Linked DNA regions of Homo sapiens: region 1 is linked to region 2. The links are contacts of gene promoters, found by promoter capture Hi-C in blood cells and fetal thymus (Javierre and others, 2016). All regions are on one chromosome and are shown on one strand. Each heading gives the region's core, a stretch centred on a gene start or on the middle of the fragment in contact. The rest is flanking DNA. Distances are from core to core; before and after follow the strand shown.

What was found. Contacts are between HindIII fragments. The CHiCAGO score rates a contact against its expected background, and 5 or more counts as called.
Region 1: a fragment that was not itself captured here is called in contact with the fragment with the promoter of AARS2 in region 2 in 1 of 17 cell types (neutrophils); the score reaches 5.5 in neutrophils.

What each region holds. Positions count from the first base shown.
Region 1 is chr6:43,821,464-43,827,620 of GRCh38, forward strand. The region is part of intron 1 of LOC105375070 (a long non-coding RNA gene); the gene reads left to right. Among named protein-coding and RNA genes, the nearest start is that of LINC02537, 28 kb to the right of the region's middle. The HindIII fragment of the contact is 7,431 bases long and covers 1-5,791 here.
Region 2 is chr6:44,311,457-44,317,541 of GRCh38, forward strand. AARS2 (alanyl-tRNA synthetase 2, mitochondrial) reads right to left here and starts at 1,891. Exons shown (of 22, transcript NM_020745.4): 1 at 1,625-1,891; 2 at 616-807; 3 at 1-79. The coding sequence starts at 1,867. It overlaps LOC124901322 (a long non-coding RNA gene), which reads left to right. Exons shown (of 3, transcript XR_007059594.1): 3 at 2,695-3,091. RefSeq lists an enhancer at 1,636-2,195. The HindIII fragment of the contact is 8,838 bases long and covers 257-6,085 here.

The DNA of each region.
Region 1 (6,157 bases), core at 826-3,325, 490 kb before region 2:
CCTCATTCTTTTCATGCTGGTGGAGCACCGTGGTATAGATGCCTCATCATGGATTCAACCAGCCTCCGAAAGTCTCCAGTCTTTGTCTCTTATCAAGATTTCCACAGTGAATAATGCATCATTGCCGACACACAGGGAGTTGTCAACAGGGTTGTATGTCTATATATCACTTCCCACGTGGTTGATACATGTGATATGTATGTGTTTCTGTAGAATAAATACTCAGAGGTGAAATTGTTGAGCCAAAGAATGTATGTGTGTTTAATATTTACAGGTATTGTCAAATTTCCAAATTTCATAGAAGTTGTGGCCATTTTTGAATGTCTGAGGGGGTCTTTTTCCCTATATTTTTGCTGATGGTGTGAAAAGAGAGTAAATGAAAATAAGGAAGACCAGGGTCCAAGGACAAGCCATGAGGCATCCCAGTGTTGAAGAGTTGAGAAGCTGGAAAAAGCCAGCAGGGGAGGCTAAGGAGGAGCATCCAGGGAGGAAGGAGGAAAACCAGAGAGTGTGATGACTTGAAAATCAAGTGAAAAAACCTTTCCATAAGAGAGGGTGGGCCAGGTGCGGTGGCTCACACCTGTAATCCCAGCACTTTGGGAGGCCGAGGCGGGGGGATCACAAGGTCAGGAGATCGAGACCATCCTGGCTAACACAGTGAAACCCCATCTCTACTAAAAATACAAAAAATTAGCTGGGCGTGGTGGTGGGCACCTATAGTCCCAGCTGCTTGGGAGGCTGAGGCAGGAGAATGGCGTGAACCTGGGAGGCGGAGCTTGCAGTGAGCCGAGATGGTGCCACTGCACTCCAGCCTGGGCAACAGAGCAAGACTGCATCTCAAAAAAAAAAAAAAAAAAAAAAAAGAGGGCGGCCAAATGTGACAAATGGTGCCAAAAGGCCAAGTGGAATGAGGACTGAGGATTGATCGTAGGACTGGTACCTTGACCAGAGCACTTTCCAAGAGTGGTGGGGGTGAGCACTTGACCCACCACTAGCTAATGATTCCGACGAGGGCCTAGATGTGATTCTGTTCCCCCTGGGTGGAAAAGCGAGCCATCAGTGAGAGAATCAGGACTCAGAAGAACCAAGACAGGTGGCCACGATACAAGGAAGAATAGAGGACACAGTGATACCAGGTGACATTTCCAGGTCCCAAATGCCAACTACATAATGAGAGAGGGTAAATGTACCTAGTGCAAAAGACTTAGAGAATTTTGACAACTCCCTGTGTGTCAGCAATGATGTGTAGTAATCTGAAGAGCAAGGCAATTATAGGGTGGGTTAATGGACATATCGTATCCAGAATGAGAGAGGCGGTTGGCCCCCTGGGCTCAGCAGCAGCAAGTCCAAATGAGGGGAACTGGGTTCGGCTAGGGGACAGTAAGGTGGGAGACACAGTGGAGTCTGTTCAAGGAGCACACAGGGAGTTAAATAATTGTAAAGGAGGCTTCGTGAGAAATGGGTAAAGAACTAGAATGTTGAGCTTGGAAAAGAATGGACTTGGGGGACCTTCTTTTGCAAGAAGAGCTCTTCTAGGAGGAAGGGACTTAGGTGGGTTGTGTGTCTAAAAATGGTGGAATGCTGGCCAGTTGCAGTGGTTCACGCCTGCAATCCTAGCACTTTGGGAGGCCGAGGGGGAGGATCGCTTGAGGCTAGGAGTTCGACACTAGTCTGGACGACATAATGAGACCCCCGTCTCTACAAAAACAATAAAAAATGATGGGACAAGGCTGAGTGGAAGACGGAAGAAGACAGACATTGTGCCATGCCTTTTCCTACATTTATTTGTGAATTCTATGTGAAAATTTGTAATCTTTGAGTATTCCAAGCCATTTCCAACCCAGGTGTGTTCTCATCTACACCTTGTTGAATGCCTGAATCTTAAGTCTTGAGGAAACAATGCCTCCTCTAAAATCCACCTGAAGGAAATGAGCAACTTCTAATTTGATCACTAATCAGCACAGAGGAGGCTTATAATGGTGGCCACAGGGCTGGGGACTTGGCCTTCCCTGCGCTACCCTGTCACTGACTTGGCAGACAGCGTGACTGGCTGGCTCCTCACATCGCCGCCTATCCCTGCTCCCAAACGTCTGGGCGCTCAGGGAAAATTAGGAGGGAAGGGAGACCTGGCTCCTGTTCTCAGAGAACAGGACAGGCTCTAGGAGCTGGAGCCGGTGTGGTGATTATATCCTGCGCCAGGCAGAAGGCAAAGGGCAGCCTCCAAACTACACTTCCCGTAGCACTCTGGGTCAGTGCTGTCTCATAGAACTATACTGTGAGCCATATCTCTATTTTAAAATTTTCTAGAAGCCTCATCAAAAAGTAAAATGCACAGGTGAACTTGCAATCAATATATGAAAACTTGTTGAGATAATTTACATTATTTTTCATGCAAACACTTCACAATGTGGCATGTATTCCACACCAGAGCATGTCTTGATTTGGGCCAGCCATGTTTCAAATGCTCAACAGCCGCGTGTATGGATGGTGGGGTCTTGGTCAGTCACCTGTCTCACTGGTCCTCCCTTGCATGAAGGAGCCAGGGCTGCCAGTGGGTGTGCAGAGACTTGATGTCACCAGTCTAGTCTGTTCTACTGGTGCCCGCCCAGCTGTGGAAGGGGCTCCTGGGGATCCACAGGGGTGATTTGCTGAGTGCACATTTCTGTCTGGGAAGGGAGCCCATGCCTGTGTGTGCCTGCTGTTTTCCAGTTATGGTAAATATTAACGAAGCAGTGGGAGCCAGGCCCTCCAGGAGGCCTGGGCTCCCCCACGGGGAGGAATGGAGATAATGCTGTGTACCTTAGATAGGGCTTTAAACCTGGCCTCTGAGGCTGCAGGGTTTGAGCTGCCAGGGAAACATGGGCATGACTTTTGTTCCCAGGACCAGGATTCCTTGCTGGGAGATTCTCAGAACCCGCAGACCTCAGGAGTGCCACTTGCCTCCACATTTGCAATGGCCTCACCCCACTTCTTACAGTCTCCCACTCACAACCCACCCTCTTCACTTAAAGAGCTCTTCTCTCCAAATCCACTTGCCAACAAGCCAGCTCAGCCAAACTTAAGGGGATGGGAAACAGATTGGGTTCAGATGATTTCTTTAAAAAAGAAACCCAAACCAATAAGCACGTACTGAGCGCTTGCAGACGCTGGGCTGTCACATACACTTCCTCCTTCTCGCAGCAAGCAGGGCTGTGGCTGTCACCCCAGCCCAGGAGAGGGACGTGAGAGCCAAAGGAGTCAGCATCACAGCCTGGAGACAAAGCTGGGATTTTGACTGGATGCCATCTAGTTAGCTATCAGAAAGTTCTCTCCAAGAGGGGAGAACACTAGTGTTTATTTGTATTTGCATAAACAAACACTGAAAAAATACGTAAGAAACTAATGTAAGTGATTACATGTGGTGGAGGGAATGGGAAGGTGGGGGGGGTGCGGGTACTGGGAGTGAGAATTCTCAAGGATAATTACTTTGATATTTGAACTGTGAGGATATATTACCTAATTTGAAAAACAAGTGAGATGAAATTTTAACTGTTTATTTATTTTTTCCTGGTAGATGAAGATGTTTTCAGAGTAAATGAGCTTGAACACCTAATTGAAACTGATTTGATATCCAGAATGTATGTAAGGGTTTTATTTTATTTTCAATAAAGATAATCCACTTACATGACCAAAAAAAGTGAGTTCTTTCTGGTCATGGCATGGAATTAGTCTTCTTCAACTTCTATGTTTGGCTCCCAGTTTCCAGTACGACGAGGAAAACCACCTCCTTCTATCACTCAGCCCCCAACTTGAGTGGGGAGATGAAGCTGTGTCCTCAGGGAGCCGCAGTCTGAGGGAGCCCCAGTCTGAGGGGAGACACAGCCCCATCCTCAGGGGGGTCCCAGTCTGAGGCGAGATGCAGCCTTTCTCAGGGGGGCCCGGTCTGAGGGGAGATGTAGCCCTGTCCTCAGGGAACCTCAGTCTGAGGGAAGACACAGCCCCGTCCTTAGGGGGCCTCAGTCTGAGGGGAGACGCAGAGCTTTGCCCTGAGGGAGTTCCCAAGCCCAGCTTCTCTGGGTCAGGTAAAATTAGTGGAGGGAATTCCTCTGTGTTCTGAAGCATCCACTTCCTCTCTGGGCCTGGCTCCCCTTCCCGTCGCAGGAAACCTCCTAAGTTCCCAGCCTATTCTGTGTGTCAACACTTGTTTCCCCAGAGTGCTTGTCCTTGGTCCCTGGAAGGGGTTTATGTGTTCTTCCTTGCCTTCAGCCTCTTCTGAAGCCAGGGAATGCATGTCCTGAGGGGCTGGGGGAGGCCTGTGCTGGCTTCCTCGATAGCTCCCCAGGACACACGCTCTACACCTGCCACTCTGAGGGCTGAGCTGGGCTGGGCTGAGGGTGGGCCAGTGTGCCAGGTGGTGTGGAGCTCTGGGGGACTGCCCTGCCCTTTGCCCATGCAGCGTGTGGGCACTGAGACTGCGGGAGAGCCCAGGGACTTCTCCCGGCTCAGGGATCACGTCCAGTGAGACTATCTGGAGACAGGCAGGAGGATGAGTGCGAGGCCTTCAATCCTTCTTGGAGTTCACAAAGTCATTGACCTGGGAAGGGAAGGGCATGCCAGGGCAGGGCAGACTGGGCACACTTGCTGTGTTTTCTTCTGAGCAGAGGGTGCTGCCTTCAGCCGAGATGGAGGGCCGAGCCCTAGCTCCAGCCAGGCTCCTCAGCACCCTTGAGGGGCAGCTAGTGGCCTGCAGTTACCACCACCTCCCAGGGAAGGGCCGTACCTGCCACTCCCCCAACTTGCATTCCCCTTTCTTCCCCCACTGGCAGAGGAGGGGTCCTAGGGGTCTAGACCAGGCCTGAGAGGCTGGAGTAATGTATGCGGATGGAATGATGGAATCTGGTTGGGAGACAGGTGGCAATGAAATGAACCCCTTTTTGGATACTCCCCTCTGAGCTCACCCACCCGTCAGTCTTCTTGTCTCCATTCTTGACCTCCTTCCAACCTGGCTGCGAAGGTGACAGGGAGACCCCAGCTGCCTGCAGGGTCTGAGCAAGGACCAGATGGAGAGAGCAGCCATGCTAGACAGAGTGCAGACTAGAATCTGTGATTCCCAGCACCTGAGAGTTAGAGAGGGAGGGATCTTGGGTCATCCAGTCCAATGCCCTCATTGGCCAAGTGGGGTAACTGAGACCCATAGAGGTTTTTCCAAAACATACTGGAGAAACCACAGGAGAAGGCCCAATGATGGGACCTAGAAAGCAATTTGCTGGGGTGATGTGGGAAAATGCCAAGGTCAGAGTGAGTGAGGTGGCAAAGGAGACAGATACCCAGTGGGATGGAGGAGGGGCTGGGGTGTTTGCCCAGAGTAGCAGGGCTGCAGGAAAAGAAAACGAAGCATTTAGGATTCTTGCAAGATAAGACCTCAGGCAACCCCAAGGGTCAGCGGTCAGCTGGTCAGCTCCTTAGGAATGTGGGCCAGTCAGCAGCACCTTTGACTCGGCACCCTTGCTCTATAGCCCAGAGTGATCTTGCAAAAGTCATTCCCCCACAGAGGTCTTAGTCTCTCCATCTGTAAAGGGAAGCCAGCACACAGCCTTCTCAAAGGACCTCCCATCTCCACATTTCTACATCACAGAGAATGACACAATAGATTTGAGATACTTTTCTCTGTTTGGCATTTCTCGCTCTCCCTGTGCCTCAATTTCCACATCTGTAAACTAGGGATAAAAATGATATCTATTTCTTAAGGTGGTTGTAAAGATTAAATGAGTGATACATGTAAAGCATTTAGTACAGCGCTCAGCCCACAGAAAGCTTTTTGTTTTGTTTTGTTTTGTTTTAGAGACAAGTGTCTCGCTCTGTTGCCCAGGCTGGAGTACAGTGGTGTGATCATAGCTCACTGCAGCTTCGATCTCCTGGGCTCAAGCAATCTTCCTGCCTTAGACTCCTGAGTAGCTGGGACTACAGGTACACACCACCACACCCAGTTAATTTTTAAAATTTTTAGCGGAGATGAAGTCTTGCTATGTTGCCCAGCCTGGTCTTGAACTCCTGGCCTCAAGTGATCTTCTGGTCTCAGCTTCCCAAAGTGCTGGGATTACAGGTGTGAGCCACTGTGCTCGCCCCAGAAAGCCCTTAATAAATGTTACTTATCATTATTATTTTTGGTAATTAAGAG
Region 2 (6,085 bases), core at 641-3,140:
AGTAGGAGATCCAGAGCCTTTCCTCAGGGATCCCATAGACCTGAGTCAGCAGTTCCCAGGCCATGTTACAAGCCTCCTCCTGCAGCAGAAACCAGCATGGGGTGGGGGGGGAAGACGGGTGAGAGGGAGACCCCACTGAAGTAATCAAGCCACATGAGTTTAGCTCCCGACTTAAGACAAAAGCATTTCTGCTGCCATCTTGTTCCCAGAATAAGCCATGAACCATTACTGCCTCTGAGTGTTTTCCTGCCCAGAAAGCTTCCCCCTTCTTCTAAGTCCTATCTTCTTTCAAGTCCCAGACCAAGTCCCACTTTCACATGAAATTCTCTGCCTACTCTAGCCTAGAGTGATCTTTAACTCCAGTAAGCACCTTAGCATTGCTGTTTGACCATTTATTCAAACAACAATTTTTGAGTGATCATTAGGCAGAAAGTACAGTCTCTGCCCTTCAGGGACTTACAATCCAATCAGGGAGGTGAGGTAATTCCTGTTACACCGGCTCAACTAGCACTTTGCCTCCACATCTGGTATGAGGCCCTGCCTAAGCAGACAGTACAATGGAAACAGGACAAATTGACTCCCTTCTTGGCTGATCACTGATCCCCAGAGACTCACCTTAAAATATTCACCCCCAAAGGCCCAATTGCCAAGCATTTCAAAGAAGGTATGATGGGAAAGGTCTCGACCCACATCTTCCAGGTCGTTATGGTGTCCTCCAGCTCTCACACATTTCTGGCTGTTGGCCACACGTCGGAAGCCTGCCATCTCGCTTCGTGGATCCACGGTGCCCAGAAAGATTGGCTTGAACTGGAAGCACATAGAGTGGGGAGGGGGAGAGGGATATCCAATTTCTCAGTAGAAGGGAAATGTGGGGAGTGAGGATAGGGATGGCTGTTCAGACCGAAGGCTGACTGTGCCCCTGAGAGTGCAGTGTAATCTTGGTCTATGAGGACAAACTGGGAGCCTCGGGACAGCCATCTCTGGTGTGTGGGGAGCAGAGAAGAGGTAAACAAATCATGAACCGGAGACCCTCTGCCTAGTAAAATAGGCAAGGTAAAAGAAGGAGGAATGTGTTGGGAGCTGGAAATGGGACGCTGAAAGGTGGCATCCTCCGTCTCAGCTTCTTCAACCACACCCAATAACTTCAGGGAACAAAACTGAGACTCATTTAGTAGGGAGCCCAGACGGCCTCTAAGGTTAACTTATGCCGCCCCTATTTTACAGATGAGGACAATGAAGTCTAGAAAAGATGAGTGGTTGATAAAAACCAAAACCTTAGAGAATAGTACTCAGCAAACAATAGGTGATCAATAAACATTTAATGAAAGCGTTATCTTTATTTAAATAACGAATAAATGAAATCAGACTTCTCCCTCGGGATTCCACTCCAGCCATTTCTGGACCTAATACTCAATCCCAATCCAGAAGTTCCCAGCTCAAGCCCTCCCCAAGCCCTCCCTATACTCTGAGCGCCGTACCCCCATCACTTTACCCAACCAAGCACCGCCCTCTTTCCCCAAAAGCTACGAACTCCGCCTCTCGCTTCTTTTGCCCAATCCTGCAGCGTCTTTCTCACCAGAAAACTCACGAACTCCGCTCCCTATCAGTATGGTTCGGCCCTCACCTGGTTCATGCCCGCATTGACAAAAAGCAAACTGGGGTCGCCGCGGGGCCGCACGGAAGCGGAGGGCACCAGCCGGTGGCCATGGCGGTCCCGAAAGAAGTTCAGAAAGGCGGCCCTCACGGCCGAGGCCTTGGCTGCAGGGGGCTCCGATGAGAGCGGCCGATGGCTGAGGCCCCGCCATGCGGGCGACCTTCGAATGGCCCGCCGCAGCCTCCGGGCTGCAGCTGCCACTGACGCTGCCATCGTAGCTCCGGGCAGTGACTTTACGTGGTCAAAGAGTGACGAGGGAAGGAAGCCAGGCGTTTCCTACAGCGGCCCCTGGCGGTAGGAGGACTCAGGGGGCGGCCTCTGCCGCCGGGGTGGAAGCGATCGATTGGGTCGCTGGCAGAGTCTAGCACAGCGCCCGGCACATAGTAGGCTCTTAATTCATTCGGCATTAAGCAAATATTCATTGAGAGCCTACTATGTGCTAGGCATTGTTTTGGGCTTTTAGGGTACAAAATTGACAAAATGCCCTGCCCACTGAAATCCGTATTCTAGCAGTAATTGCTGTTGTGCTTATTAGTTTTGCAAAGTTACAGATGGGGTTGCAATAAACAGGTGTGGATTCAACTTCGTGTGTGTGTGTGTGTGTGTGTGTGTGTGTTTTGTGTGTGTTTTTCCAGGCTGAGGGAAGAAGGCAGAGAGTGACAGGGGAGTATCAGCATTCATTCAAGAGGTATTCAACAAATATTTATTGAAGACCTAGTATGTGCTAGGCACTGTTCTAGGCATTTGCCAGTTTCCTTGGACCTTGGCATCAGACACGGCCATTTTTGCCCGTGAAGCAGGAGTCTATAGGAGAACACAGAAGCCAAACAGCATCTGCTATATTATTAATTGCCTAACATTTGGTCTTCTCATTTGCCTGGGGATCAGAGAGAATCCAGGTCGTCAAGGCAGGAGGAAGCTGTTGGCTAATAGCTGCAGAGATTTCACTCTCTAAGCCTTCTAATGCCCTAAGGTTTTGTGTGTTTTCGTTTAGGATAAGAGATATACCTGTTCTACCTCTCCCTTCTGTCTTTCCATAGTAACAGCTGTGACCCTGAAGCCAACAGGCCCTTGTGGATGCAATCAGGGTGCTCATGGGGCTTCTCATGATGCCCTTGGCTTGGGAAATTAAACAGATTGGGAAGACAGAAGAGAATCTGCCAAAGCTAAAACTCAATAGAGGTTCCAGAGCTGAGGTCAGTGTAATAACCGAGAAGGCCTTAGCCATCAGGGTGGTCTCTTTTAGCCACGATTCTGTGTGTGTTAAGTTATTTGGGGTCTTTGTATACATAGTTTCTCTGCGGAATCTACATTGGACTTGAATTTCTATAGTGATAGTAAATTCTTAACTTTGTGTTCTGACAGCACCTATAACTCCTATTCCATGATCCCCTTTTTCTCCCTTTGCCCACATAGATTAAAGGTGTTGTTTTGAAAGTGTGTTTGGCCTGTTTTGGTTTTTCCAGTGTTTCTGGAACAGAAAGCTAAAGCCAGCTGGGGATTTCTGTGTGATTAATGACTTTTTTATTTTTTTGAGATGGGGTTTCACTCTTGTTGTGCTGGCGTGCAATAGCACAATCTCGGCTCTCTGCAACCTCTGTCTCCCGGGTTCAAGCAATTATCCTGCCTTAGCCTCCTGAGTAGCTGGGATTACAGGCATGCATCACCACGCCCGGCTAATTTTGTATTTTTAGTAGAGATGGGGTTTCTCCATGTTGGTCAGGCTGGTCTTGAACTCCCGACCTCAGCTGACCTGCCTACCTCAGCCTTCCGAAGTGCTGGGATTACAGGCATGCACCACTGCGCCCAGCTGAGATTGATGATCTTTAGACAAGACTGTGAAATTATTTCCCAAACTGAGATGGGAGTGTTTTGCCATACAAACCTGGCAGGGCCTCTACTCAGTACTGACATCAACTTTTTTTTTTTCAGATTTTGCCCAGAAAGTCATTGTGTTACATTAGAAACTCCAAACATGGATCTAGTGTGGAGCCATATAATTTTTTTAAAACAGCTTTATTGAAATATAATTTACATGCTATACAATTCGCCCATTTAAATAAAGTATACAGTTCAATGCCTTTTAGTATATTTACATAGAGTTGCCCATCCATCACCACAATCACTTTTAGAACATTTTCATTACTTCCAAATAAAACCCCAAATCCTTTAGCCATTAACCCCCAATCGTCTCATCCTTCCTAGCCCTTGGCAACCACTAATCTACCTTCTGTCTCTACAGACTTGTATATTCTGGACATTTCATGTAAATGGAATCATGTAATATGTGGTTCTTTGTAACTGGCTTCTTTCACATAAAATAATATTTTCAAGGTTCATCCATGTTGTAGCATGTACCATGGATTTTTAGAAAAATGTTTTTAGTTGTTTTCTGTTTGAAGTAGGTTTTTCTCTCATCTAATTTTGTCTTTGCCACTAAAAATGATAATTTTCTTTTCTTTAAATGTGGTGCTCTTTGGTGAATCATTAGGTTCTTTTTAATATTTCCCAGTGAAGCAAAGCGGTTCATCTAGGATTGGGACGTGTCTGTTCTGGTTTGCAGCTGTCATCTGATGAGGAAGTTAAATTGAAGGACTGCAGTTTCCCAAGATAGATGGAGGTGGAGAAAACTCATCAGACAGGGAAGTTACCAATCCTGGGAACTTCTCTGAAGGGTACTGATCCACTGTCTTAGTATTTATGGGAATTTCATTTTGAGGTTTAACATGCAAATGGGGTCTGCTTTTTGCGAGTTACTCAGCTGGGTTTTGTGAGCAACATTTGGGGTGCTCCTTTCATTGTTTAAGACAGTGGTGCTTTATCTTCCCTGGAGGTGGGATTTACCCTTACGTTGCCATTCGACCTACTTATCTTGGTAGGTTCAAGGCATCCAGCCATTCTTTGTGCTCTCCCTTTCACCTTGTTTAAAAGATGTAACACTCTTATTCTAGGAGTAGAAAGTGTCCTTTCTGATTTCCCGATTGGCTTTGAGAGCAGGACCCCAAGATCAGTGAGACATTCTGTCCTGGATTGATGGTCAGAGAAGACAAAGGGAATTTTCACTCTTACTAAGCATGGGGAACTCAACTTTGGGAATTTCCTCTTATAAATCATAAAAACAGTCTTTTAGCGTCTAGGTTAAAAAGTCAGCCTACGACAGGTGTTTCTGATTTGATGTGTTTATTTATGGCATTGGCTTATCTGGATTGTGAAAGCAACCAACACTTGCCAAACATTAATATGCATATGGATCTCCTGCGATCTTGTTACATATGCAGACTATGATCCAGTAGGTCTGGAGTAGGTGAAATTCTGCATTTCTAGCAGGCTCCCGGTGATGCTGCTGCTGCTGCTAGTCTACTAGACCATACCTTGAGTGACAAGGGTGTAGTAAAGGACTTGTGAGGGGAGTCTGGACACAGGCTTTAGGAAACGTTCTTTTGCCTGGTCCTGGGGCCTAAGACTCAGGTGCCCTTAGGTTCTCCCTTTCTCCTGGGAGGGGTGCTCACCCAGAGTAGGTGGGTGTAGCTGGGAGCTCATCGTGCGCAAGAGCGCTCGCCCCCTTCCTTCCCCCAGCTTCTTAGGGAAGTGAGGGTGGTGATTGCGTCCGCCTGTGGCTTAGAGCCGTGGAGGTTAATGTGGACCAGGGTGGAAGGGGAGCGGTTACCATGGGAATCTGGCAAAGTCATCAGGGCACGCCGATGGCTGGTGGAGCCCCCGGATCAGGAATTCAAGTATTGGTGGACCCTTGAGGGCCTCAATTCTAGAGGTTTATCCTCATGCATTAAAAAAATACTGTAGTTACATTTTATTTATTTTTATTTTATTTTTATTATTTTTGAAAGAGATAGGGTTTTGCTATGTTGCCCAGGCTAGTTTTGAACTCCTGGTGTCAAGCATTCCTCATGCCTCGGTCTCCAAGATAAACATTTTAACTGGTTATAGAAATACCTACATAAGAAAGAAGTAGACATAGGAGACTCCATTTTGTTCTGTACTAAGAAAATTTCTTCTGCCTTGGGATGCTGTTAATCTAGAACCTTGCCCCCAACCCCGTGCTCTCTGAAACAGGGTTAAATGGATTAAGGGCGGTGCAAGATGTGCTTTGTTAAACAGATGCTTGAAGGCAGCATGCTGGTTAAGAGTCATCACCACACCCTAATCTCAAGTACCCAGGGACACAAACACTGCAGAAGGCCGCAGGGACCTCTGCCTAGGAAAACCGGAGACCTTTGTTCACGTGTTTATCTGCTGACCTTCTCTCCACTATTATCCTATGACCCTGCCACATCCCCCTCTCCGAGAAACACCCAAGAATGATCAATAAATACTAAAAAAAGAAATACCTACATAACAACTTCGATTTTGCCTCTTGGCCTGGAAAGCCTAAAATATTTAATACGTGGCTTTTCAAAAAAAGTTTGCCAAACA